2 separate regions of the Homo sapiens genome follow, and region 2 is linked to region 1. The links are contacts of gene promoters, found by promoter capture Hi-C in human tissues and cell types (Jung and others, 2019). All regions are on one chromosome and are shown on one strand. Each heading gives the region's core, a stretch centred on a gene start or on the middle of the fragment in contact. The rest is flanking DNA. Distances are from core to core; before and after follow the strand shown.

Region 1 (5,829 bases), core at 1,138-3,637:
CAGGAAAGATTTTAATCTCTTTGTGATCAGATAAATGGGAGAGTGGGGGAGGCTTGCTACCCTGCTGAGGAGGGCCATTCAAAGCTGGTTCCTGTAATAAAGTGATTTAATAGATCTAAAAAGGCCAATTCCCTTCTTTCTCCCACAATTACTTCCTGTGGGTTATCATTCACATATGTAAATGAGACAGAGAAGGGAGAAAAGCCACTAGTGGGAAACTAGCTGTCTAATGGGGGGTTGGGGGAATAAGGGTGCTGCAAAGGGGCAGCTCAGTATCCTGCTGCAGGTCCTCTTGGCAGATGTTCAAGTAGCCCACTGACCCCATGGCCCCAACAGTAAGTGGTGGCTCCCCATCTCCCTGCGTCTATTTCCCTTGTTTGTTCCTCACTGAAGGCTGTGCTCAAAGACGTCCCTGCTGCCTCCAACTAGTCCATCCAGCATCTCCCTTCTCTACCCCTCCCCCAAAGAATGCCATCCCTTCAGGCTCCAACCCTTAATCCCCACATCCTCCTTTCCCCTCCCCCACACCTCCTAAAGCCAACCTCCCTTAAGTAACCCCTCCCTGCCCGGCCTGGGTGTCAACCTACACGATCTGGGATTAGCAATTTCTTCTTTCCAGATCCAGTCCCAAACCTCCAAAGATGGAAGGGCCATAGGCAGCAAGCAACTTCCTTTCCATGGTCTTTATGGGTAGCTGGTGGCCCAGGACCACCGGAATGCCTCTAGGATATTCAGGAAGGGGAAGCCTGGGAGGAGGGAGACCTGAAGTCTCTGGCTCCTTGTTTGAGGCCAGGAATGTTAAGACAGCAATCAATGGCTGTCTGGGGCCATAAATGCCAAGCGGAGAATAGGACCAGAGGCCAGCCTCCCTTCACCCCCTGCCCTGCGACACTGAATTTCACCCCCTACTGTGCTGCCCTGCTTTAACTGAGAACTTGGGGTTGCGACCTACCGACTTCCCTCCCAGCCTGGCCCAGGAATGTAAGGAAGGCCTGGGCTCTTTGGGTTTTCCTTCCTCACGGGAACTGGACAGCAAAGACCCCAGTCCTGAGCTTTCAAGCCCCCACAGGGATCCTTCAGGGATCTGCCAAACCCAGTTTTTAGTGACCAGCCAGGTGAGGTCTGCATTAAAAAGGGGATGAGGCTGACTTCTCGGCTTTACGCCCCTTGGGTCCAGTAGCCAGTTGCCCTCACTCTCTCCCGCCTTCTGAGCTCCATTCAGACGTTGGAGGAGCTGGGCTCCCGGCTTAGGCCCGGCATGTGCTTCCCTGGCCGGCCTGCTCGCCCTCCCCCCACCGGCAAGCACAATACAACCTTAGTTTCTGCCACATGGGGTCACCTCCCTGCCCCCTGCCCCTTCCCAGGGGAAAGAGGTAATAGACACGTGGTAAGCCGGAGGGGTTCCCGGAAGGGGGCGGGGGTGCTGATAATTGGTGCTGCCTCCCACTACTCCCCCACGAGATAGTTAACAGGGACTCAGAATTGGGGTGCCGAAGCAAAGACAGGGATGCATAATGAGGGCTCCCGATGGCCCTCAATTCAACTGCGAGCCCGGAGCCCACCCGTGGATATGGGCGCCTAGACGCCCTTCCCTGGGCAAAGTTACCGGAATCAGTCTCACCTGGTGCACAAAGACATCCACTGGGGGGTCGAGCGCGACCCCGGCGCGGGCGGTCATGGACAGGAAGCCGAACCCCATGCGCACGTTGAACCACTTACAGATGCCCGCACCGTGCAGCAGCTGAGGCTCGTCCGCCGCCCGGGCCGCGTCCTCCGGCGCCTCCTCGGGCGCCTCTTCTGCCGCCTTGGCGCAGCCACCTGGAGAGAGGGAGGGCCGGGCACTTAGCTGGGGGGCACGGAATCGGAGGGCCGTCTCGGGCCCCAGGCAGGGAGACCCGAGTATCCAGCCCCACAAGTGGACAGCCAGGAGGGGGCAGCTACCAAGCAACAGAAGAGAAGAAACCTATCCCGGTCGCCTCCCGCGTTCCCCTAGCGTACACCGGGACAGTAGTGCCCCGAAAGTTTTGCTCCTCTTCCCACAACGCGTTTCCCAGAGACTCACGGCGGGACAAGCCTCTCCTCTCCATCCACCCACGTAGTCTGGCGCGCACGCCACTGGGACACCAAGGTTCCTGGCCCCAGAGACGGCCCTATGAAGCAGAAGGCCGCACCGTCTTGGGGTCCTTTGGGCAGCCTAGGACTCAGTTCCCCACCTCCCTTCTACGTGGCTCCTGGCCGCCCCTGAATCCTAAAGTGTCCCCGCTAAGTCCCGAGCTCGAACCTGCAAACTGCTGGTTGGACACGGAGCCCATGGTCGTCGGCTGAGCCCGTGGCCCCGGGCCCCTGGTCGGGCGGCTGCTGGCCCCGGAGAAGTCCGAAGGCAAAGGGTTGGTTCGGAGAAGAAGCTGCTACATCTTCCCCCGCACAATAGCGGTGGGAGGGCCCACGGCTTTTCAAAGGCTCCCAAATTCTAAAAGACAATGACCCAACCCCCCGCGGGCAGCCCCCTCCCCTCCCCTCCCTCTCCTTTCCCCTCCCTTTCCCTCCGGCTCCAGCTCCGGCCCTCCCCCACAACTCCGGTCTCTGACACCTCTGGGGTGTCCCTTCTCAGAACCTTGAGGTTTGACACCCCCTCCCCACACGCACAACTGGAGATGGGTCTGTCTGCCCTAGAAGACTTGAGTACCCCGGAATTTGAGATCCTGCACTTTGGACTCAGTAGGGGTCCCCAAAGCAGATACAGGTGGGGGACCTGGTGGGGGGGGTAGTTTTAAAACCACGTGACTGCACACACACACACACACACACACACACACACACACACACCACCCCCACCCCCCGGGCAGATAATTATACATTCCAGAGAGTTGGGGGAGGGAGGTGTGAGCCTGGCGGCGCTGGCCAATCAGAAACACAAACCACCTGTCAAGGGAGAAATGAATGGGCCCTCCCCCTCCCCCAGCCCTTGAGCTCCCCTCCCCCTCTCTTCCCCCTCAGGCCTCTGAGCTGACCCGGCTGCTTGGAGCTGACCCGCTCTCACCCCCCACCCCCGTGTGCTTAGATAGACCTGGAGTTCTGGACACTGGGAAGCCCGGGATGGGGGAGCAGGGGAGAGGCTGGGGACACACAGGGCTGATCTGTCCTGACCAAAGCGCTGCCTTCCAAAGTCTGTCTGCCTCTGACTACATCTGAATGTCTGCCTCCCAGAGTTTCTGACTCAGAGTTTTTCTGGGCCTCCCCCAGTTAGAAAAGAGAAAGTGCTCTTAATTGATTCGTTGTAAAGAATTCTTCCTTCTTTCCTCCCTCCAAACCTGTGTGTCTAAAGTTAGCCCCAGGTAAGCTCCCTGGAGAGCAGGAGGAACCCAAAGAGTCTTGAAGCTGTTTCTCCACCAGCTGCCTTCTCGTCCTACCCCCACCCCATCCCCATCCACTGCTGAGAGAGGGACTGGGTGGGCTGGTGGGTAGAGGTACTTCCTCTCTACTCTTCACACTCTTAGATTCCTAGGCCCTCCTTGTTTCAGAGTAACCACCCTAAAATGCGCTCCCATTCCGTAGTGGGGCTGGTGGAGGAACAGGACTGGGGGGCCTCCTCATTTGAAGAGGTAACCTCCCCTTCTAGGAGATAAAGACGGCTGGCTAGTGGGGGTGGCTACTGCCCTGGTCGGAGATGGACAATGGCCCGGGGCTCAGTGCACGGCCCTGGCCCTGCCCCTTCACTTCCGGTGTTCAGTTCAAACTGGACAATGCCAGCTCCGGCCAGTTCCCCTCCCCCACCACTACAACCCATTTAAAGGGACAGAGCCTGCTTTCGGGGGCATCCGCTTGCTCTGAATTCAATCTTCTCCACCGAGTGTGCAGAACCTTTTGGAATTCTCACGCTGTGGCTCTGTGTGTGTGTTTGTGTGTGTGTGTGTGTGCACGTGCGGATGTGGGCACATGTGTATTTCAGAGAGACCGGATGAGTGGGGGTAGGGAAGGGGAAGATGGGGAGGAAAGCAAGAGACTGCAGAAGTTATTTCCCTTTCTCTCGTACGGGGTGCTCTCCAAGAAATGAAAACTTGAGCGTAAGGAATGGGAGGTGGGACTTCGTGGGGTAAAAAGGACAAGAGTGGCCCTTTGCTGCTCCGCCTAAAAAATACATATCGTTAACAAATATTATTAGCAGTGCCCCACTCCCATCTGAGGACTCTAATTTAGAATTATCAAGAGTTCTCCTAGTACATCAGCCAAAGCCATTTTTATTTACATAATTCTCCTCTCCCAAAAGTCTTATCTCCCGCTGTTAGTGGCGCCCTTAAAATATATTCGCTCCGTGTACCTCTGTTCCTAAGACTCAGGAGCAAGTGGCTGAGGTCTGGCTGAAGAAAAGGGAGGGAAAGGGGAGTTGAACGCTCTGGCTTCTCTAGGTGGGTTCTCAAGTGATGCGAATTCGGTTCCCCGGGAATGCGCGGCCTGCTTCTCTGTCCAGGGTCCTGAGGGCTCCAGCAGCTCTGTCCACGGTGCTGAATTGAGTCACGCTGTCTTGATTCCCAGCTCACAGTTTTGAGAATAACTTCTTGAGTTCCCACCTCCAAGTCTTTCCCAGAAAACCTGATTTTCCTCAATGCCGGTTCCCGCTGTGGTAACACTGACACATTTCAGATGAATGAAGACACTTTTTTTGGGGGACGGAGTCTTGCTGTGTTACCCAGGCTGGAGTGCAGTGGCACGATATCTGCTCACTGCAACGTCTGCCTCCTGGGTTCAAGCAATTCTCGTGCCTCAGCCTCCCGAGTAGCTGGGATTACAGGCACATGCTACCACGCCCGTCCAATTTTTGTATTTTTATAGAGACGGGGTTTACCATGTTGGCCAGGCTGGTCTTGAACTCCTGACCTCAAGTGATCCGCCCGCCTGGGCCTCCCAAAGTGCTGGGATTATAGGTGTGAGTCACCGCACCCGGCCTAAGATACTTTTTTTGAATGCTAAAGAAATGGCACTTTCGACCGGGCGTGGTGGCTCACGCCTGTAATCCCAGCATTTTGGGGGGTCAAGGTGGGAGGATTGCTTGAGGACAGGAGTTTGAGACCAGCCTGGGCAACATGACGAAACCCCATCTCTAAAAAAAATACAAAAATTAACCGGATGTGGTGGCGCATGCCAGCTACTTGAGAGGCTGAGGTGGGAGGATCACTTGAGCCCAGGAGGCCGAGGTTGCAGTGAGGAGATAGTGCCATTGCACTCCAGCGTGGGTGACAGACTCACCCAGGCCTTGTCTCAAAGAGAGAGAGAGAGAGATTCCCAGTAGTATATGATTTTGTGAGAGAGATGCAGGTATCTCAAACTCCTCTTCAGAAAAATGGGAAACCTACTTCCCATAATATGGCTGTAAAGGGTTAGGAAAGAAGAGATAATATTTTTTGAGTCAAAGAAGACCAAAGTAGAAGAAAAACTAATCTCTGTTTTTAATTTTCTTTTCTTTTTCTTTTCTTTTCTTTTTTTTTTTTTTTTTTTTTTTTTGAGATAGATTCTCACTCTACTGCCCAGGCTGGAGTGCAGTGGTGCGATCTTGGCTCGCTGCAACCTCTGCCTCCTGGGTTCAAGTGATTCTCCTGTCTCAGCCTCCTGAGTAGCTGGGATTACAGGTGCCCACCACCATGCCTGGCTAATTTTTGTATTTTTAGTAGAGACAGGGTTTTACCATGTTAGCCAGGCTGATATCGAACTCCTGACCTCAGGTGATCCGCCCACCTCGGCCTCCCAAAGTGTTGGGATTACAGGCGTGAGTCACCACTCCCGGCCTTATTTTCTTAATTATTACCACTTTTTAAAGGAGTACAAGGCATTAGA
Region 2 (5,829 bases), core at 1,983-4,482, 55 kb before region 1:
GCTGATGCAGTGCCCAGACGGGCCAGCCAGTCAGCTCGCTTGAGTTCCAAGGCCTGCAGGAAGCCTTGGACTCGCTCTTCCCGTCTGGCCGAGAGTTTGTGCAAGCGTGTCCTTCGGAGCTGGGCGTCCCCACTGGCTTGGAGCCCCTCTCGCAGCAGCTGCTCTGTCACTGTAGCCTGGTCCCTCTCCAGCTGCTGCCTCTTCCGCTCCTCTGCATACATGTCTCGGGCCTTCTGCTAGAGAAAAGTGGGGATTGGGGTGGGGAGATCATTTTTAGGAGTGGGTGAAACTGGGATGGAGGAGGTAGGGGGTGGGGCACAGGGTGGGCCAAGTGAAGTGGAACAGTGGAAAGTAGGTACCAGATTTGAAAAGGCTTGGGAGTAGGTATGCAGTGGGTGGTGCTCATGTTGTACAGGCAGGGCAGTGGCAATTCTGGGTCCATCTTGGTTTGTTTTGTGTGGAAGCGTCTGTACTTCTTAAAGTTTTTCTCATGCTCTTGGAACCAAACAAATGTGGGTCTGACTTCTGATTCCCCCATCAACTGGCTTTGTGTCTTTGGGCAAATCCTGTCCTAACCTCATTTCTTCATCTGTAAAGTGGGGGTTGTGCCTACCTTGAAGAGTGGTTTTAAGGATTAGAGATAACATATGCAAAATCCTCTCTAGGATATTAGCAGGCTCTTAGACAGAAACAGCAATTTTACAAGTTGTTATTGTCTATTCTCCGCTGCAAGAAAGGTCCTATTCTTGTCGGGGACATGTCCCTTGGGTCACTTCCTTTGATCTCCCCAGGTTTTCCTCTGAGGGTACCATCCTCCCCACTCCCTAGGCTATTTTTCAGAGCTCCAGACTTGCCTCCTGTATGAAGACCAGCCTGATCCTTCCAGCAAATGACCCCCCTATGAACATTCTGAGAAGCAGGTTCAACTCTCTTAAGCCACTTATTGCATTCTGCATAGTAGAATAAGTGTTAGTGTTCACAATCCACTCTTTCTGTTAGAAAATAAGCCCTTGGAAGTTTGAGAGCCTTCAAGCCTCTTGCAACCAGCTCTGACACCAGGTGGTGATCATACTCCCTGGCAGCAGTTATCATCCCAAGTACTAGAGGGCAGAGACTGGGCTTCTTCCTCTCCAGCACTTGGGGTGCCCTGTACATGTGAAACACTCAACTGACTGACCACGTGATCCCAGGAGAGCAGTGAGGATGCTCCTGATACAGAAGAGCGGAAAATCCCTTTGGAGCAGAACCAAGGCTTTCCTGTGCCTCACTGATCCTCTCTGTTCCTGCCAGTCTAACTGACCTGCAAAGCCTTTGCACTAGAGCTCCTCCTGCCAAACCTATTCCATGTGTGAGAAACTCTATTTTCCTATGGTATCCTATACCCTGATGACCCTTCCCACATTCTACCTTGTATTACGATAAACTTGTATACATGTTTTTGTCCTAATCAGCCTGTAAGCACCTTGACTGCTCTGTCTTCATGGTTTAAAGAATATCTTACATGTGCACAACCACTTCATCTGTTGCCTCACTTGACCCTCACAATGGAGCTGTGAGGGAGGTACTTTCTGCTGGAGACAGACATGGAGCAGGGAACTGATTTGCTGTCTCTCAGCAATAAAGGTTTACTGCATGAATAAGGATGACAAATGAGAATTCTGGACTGTCCCCCCCGGCTCCTGAATAATCCCAGGCATTCAAGAATACTTCTCTTCTGCTATTACAATGAATTACATGTGGAGCTATGAGGACTTCGGGCTTGAACAGTTGCCGTAGAGCTCTCCGTCTTGCTGGAAGGGCTTCTTCCAGGCCTTGGTCAGGAGGCTCCCTGGGTGCTACATACAGGATTTTTTTTGAGGATATGGAGATGCGCAGGACACGATCCCAGCAATCCAGGTGCTTACAGGCTGATTGTACAGCCATGCACACAGAGTGCCACGATGCAAAATAGGATGTGGTAAGGGTCATGCAGTTCAGAGGAGAAAGCAAGTGTGGCTGATGAACATCACGGAGCAGTGACCTTCATGGACAGACAGAATTTGAGCTGGCCCTTTAACCAATGAGGAGGATTCAAACAGAGGTGAGGTGTGTGGGGGGCAGGGAGAATATTCTGGCAGTGGGAGTAATGAGCAAAGATGCATGGAACCGAAGAGCCTGTTAAGGCCAGAGTAAGTCCACCTGGAGCACTGGGGTTTGAGAAGTTCCTAAGGCCTCCCTCACCTCTCTAAGGCTCTCTCTTACTCTGCAAAACCGGGATAAGAGTACCCACCTCACTGGGTTGTTTGAGGAAAAATGAGATAATGAATTTTCAGCCTACTGCTTGGCTATTAACTGTTAGCTGTTCTATCACCGCCACTTGTGGACTGGGCTAAGTAGTCTAAGTTTCTGGCAGAACAGAAAGGATGGGGGACGCTCAGCAACAGAGGGAGGAAATATGGAGCTAGCTAAAGCCACTTCATGAGGCGCAAGCTTCTTCCAGATGGCATCAGAGTGCATGCCAGCAATGGGGGCTGTAGCCCAGGCAGAGCCTGGCCCCTGTCTGCCAGGAATTAGCAGTTCATTGTTCAGATAGCAGAGTTGGGAGGGTGTCTGCTCGTCATTTTACAGAAAATGACAGCGAGGCTGAGATGGCTGAAGTTCCCTTGGCTTCTCCACTAAGATAACTTCTTGAGAGGACAATGTGAAGTGTATCTCGTGCCTGTGTATAAGCTCTACTTTCTAGGGGTGGAAAAGCTGGTGGCCTGTATCTGGATACCTGTCTATCCAGCTTCCACATGGTCTGAATCTACCCTTTCAATCTCAGAGGTGTTTCCAGTTCTTCTCAAGTACTTACCCTTGGGAAATCCAAGCTAACAGAAGTCCTAGAGGTCAACTTTTCTCTCCCTGACCATTTGTCTACTATCCTTGTATAATGACCAATCAGGGTAAGTGAGGGCGTTAATTCTTTCCTTAGAGACTTTTTGTACAGACCTTATCCAATCTTGGTGCAAGGGCTCCAAGAAGCTCACTTTGAGAAATGTGGTTCTAACCTATGAATCTAAATTCCTCCTGGGCATTATCCCTCTCTGCTCTTATTCTCTCCTTGGTAGAATCAGAGAACAAGATGTAATAGTCCCTCCAGTACTTAAATCTAAAAGTCCTCTACCACTCTGTTGGCACCTGGAGAGAGGCTGCAGGTCCTTGGCTTCAAAACATTAGCCAATGAAAAGTCCTTCCCCAAGCTGCAACCAGCCAGCCCAGGTCAGCAGCATGAGGAATGCATTTCTGAGGGCTGCTCTCAGGCAGAGAAGGGCACCTCCTACCAGAAACATGATGTTCTGAAGCACCCTCAGAGTCTCCTTGCCTGGGGAGTTGTACTGGGGACAGGATGTGCAGGGTGCTTTTCCAGAGAGGAGTCTGAGGAGAGGCCAAGAGACACACATGTGGGGAACAATATTGGCCACCATTCTTGGAAAATGAACTCTGTTCCAGCCACTGCACTCAGCACTTGACATGTGTTAGCTTACTGAATCCCTATCACAAACCTGCAAGGTAGGTATTACTGTAAACGCTACTTCTCTCATTTTACAGGTGAGGAAAATGATACTCTGAGGGGTTAAGTAACTGTACAGTCATATAGCTATGTAGGCAGTGCCAATATTCAAAGTCATGAATGTCTGAGACATTAACTCAAGCTTTTAGGCTAAGGTGGGAGGCTCGCTTGAGCCCAGCTGCTCAAGACCAGCCTGGGCAACATGGCGAGACCCCATTTCCACATGCATACATATATGCATACATACATAACTCAAGCTTTTATCCTGAGGAGAAGATAGTGACAACCTGAAGAGCAGAAGAAATATAATGTTCAATCCAGCCCGTTTAAATTGTGACAAATGTACTACAGGAAGCTTCGTGGGAACATGTGTCTTTTCCCTCTCTAATATCATCCTTGGAGATGAGGTGAACACTTTTTACTCATCTCCATCAGTGACCTCTCAAGGACCTACCATCCATGCAACTTGTGATTGAGGATCAGCTGCTCTGCACTGCCGCACACCCCCTCCCTGGCCTGATTCTCTATTTGTCCCTGCCTCTTTGCTGACAAGTCCTACTGCATCATAGTCAAGATCTCCCTTTGCCAGCCTTTAAGACTGGCTAGGTGACCACCTGGAGACTGTCATGGTCCATTCAGATACCAAGGTCTGGCTCCCCACAACTTGTAGCCAAGTCCCTGCTTCCCTTACGATCCACCCGCTGCCTTCCTCTCAGTAAGCTACTCTAGGTCCAGAGCCTAGCCCCTTGCCCTGGCTTCCTGCAGAGAATAGGGACACATTGGGCAGGGCCTAGAGACAGAGCAGCTCAGATTTTAAAATGGGAATTTGGGTGATGGGGCAAGAGCACAGACATACAGGTAGGAAACTGGAGGGCATGGAACAGGTAACTGGGAAGAGTCCAGTTTGGCCATGATACAGGGTCTGTAAAAGGGAGACATGAGAAAAGCCTGGAAAGACCTCTCTGGTCTGAGAACAAACTGGTGAGGATGCTGTTAGTCTGGATTCTCCCCTTAGTGCATCTGCCAAGGTGATATGATTTCTAGAAACAGAGCTTTGAAGCTTCTGGGGTAGAGAAAGCCTGGCCAGGACCTCCAAGGGCTCCTGCTGGAGAAGGCTTCAAGATAATCAGTATCTCTATTATAACTTTGGATTCCTTGCTCTAAAAACAGAGGCAATAATAATAGTATCTGCCTTAAAGCAGTTCACAGAATTTACTGAAAGGATGCCTGACATGTGGTAAGAACTCAATACTGGAAGGATGCCTGACATGTGGTAAGAACTCAATAAAAGTTTGCAAATATAGGCCGGGCGCAGCGGCTCATGCCTGTAATCCTAGCACTTTCGGAGGCCAAGGTGGGTGGATCACCTGAGGTCAGGATTTTGAGACCAGCCTGGCCAACATGGTGAAACCCTGTCTCTACTAAAAATACAAAAATTAGTTGTGCGTGGTGGCACGTGCCTGTAGTCCCAGCTACATGGGAGGCTGAGGCAGGAGAATTGCTTGAATCCGGGAGGCAGAGGTTGCAGTGAGCCGAGATCATGCCACTGTTCTCCAGCGACAGAGTGAGATTCCGTCTCAAAAAAAAAAAAAAAAAAAAAAAAGTTTGCAAATATGATCCATAGGTAAAAATGGAACACTTAATAGTTGACCTCAAACACCTTCCACCCCATCCCAGGAAACAGCAGAACTATACAACCAATTGCTATGGCCACAACCTAAGTGTCTTGGTTCCTAATAACATTATTATTTGTACTTATTTGTTTTAGCCTACAAGAAACAAGAGTTTCAGGCCGGTCGCGGTGGTTCACGCCTGTAATCCCAGCACTTTGGGAGGCCGAGGCGGGCAGATCACCTGAGGTCGGGGGTTTGAGACCAGCCTGACCAACATGGAGAAACCCCATCTCTACTAAAAATATAAAATTAGCCAGATGTGGTGGCACATGCCTGTAATCCCAGCCACTTGGGAGGCTGAGGCAGGAGAATCGCTTGAACCTGGGAGGCGGAGGTTGCAGTGAGCCGAGATCACGCCATTGCACTCCAGCCTGGGCAACAAGAGCGAAACTCCATTTCAAAAAAAAAGAAACAAGAGTTTCATAATTACATTACCAACATTGCCACTAACAATAAACCTCTTAAGTAATGTTTAATTTTGTGTTGCAGTTTGTATTATCCTGAAAAGAAATTCCACTAAAGATGAATAGCAGAGAACTGTGTTCAGGTAAGCTGAATTAATTCCTTTCTCTGGGGAGTTATATTATCACCTTGATATAGCTAGTTTCACTTGTTTCTATTTCA

Evidence for each region. Contacts are between HindIII fragments. The study calls those that stand out against the background at their distance.
Region 2: a fragment that was not itself captured here is called in contact with the fragment with the promoter of LIN28A in region 1 in 5 of the 25 tissues and cell types used here (bladder, dorsolateral prefrontal cortex, lymphoblastoid cells and 2 more).

The regions. Positions count from the first base shown.
Region 1 is chr1:26,407,375-26,413,203 of GRCh38, reverse strand. LIN28A (lin-28 RNA binding posttranscriptional regulator A) reads right to left here and starts at 2,387. Exons shown (of 4, transcript NM_024674.6): 1 at 2,282-2,387; 2 at 1,622-1,818. The coding sequence starts at 2,312. RefSeq lists enhancers at 3,121-3,678, 3,679-4,238. The HindIII fragment of the contact is 10,463 bases long and covers 1-5,829 here.
Region 2 is chr1:26,463,299-26,469,127 of GRCh38, reverse strand. DHDDS (dehydrodolichyl diphosphate synthase subunit) reads right to left here. Exons shown (of 9, transcript NM_205861.3): 9 at 1-233. It overlaps DHDDS-AS1 (DHDDS antisense RNA 1), which reads left to right and starts at 1,591. Exons shown (of 3, transcript NR_125953.1): 1 at 1,591-2,080; 2 at 5,695-5,752. The HindIII fragment of the contact is 4,677 bases long and covers 894-5,570 here.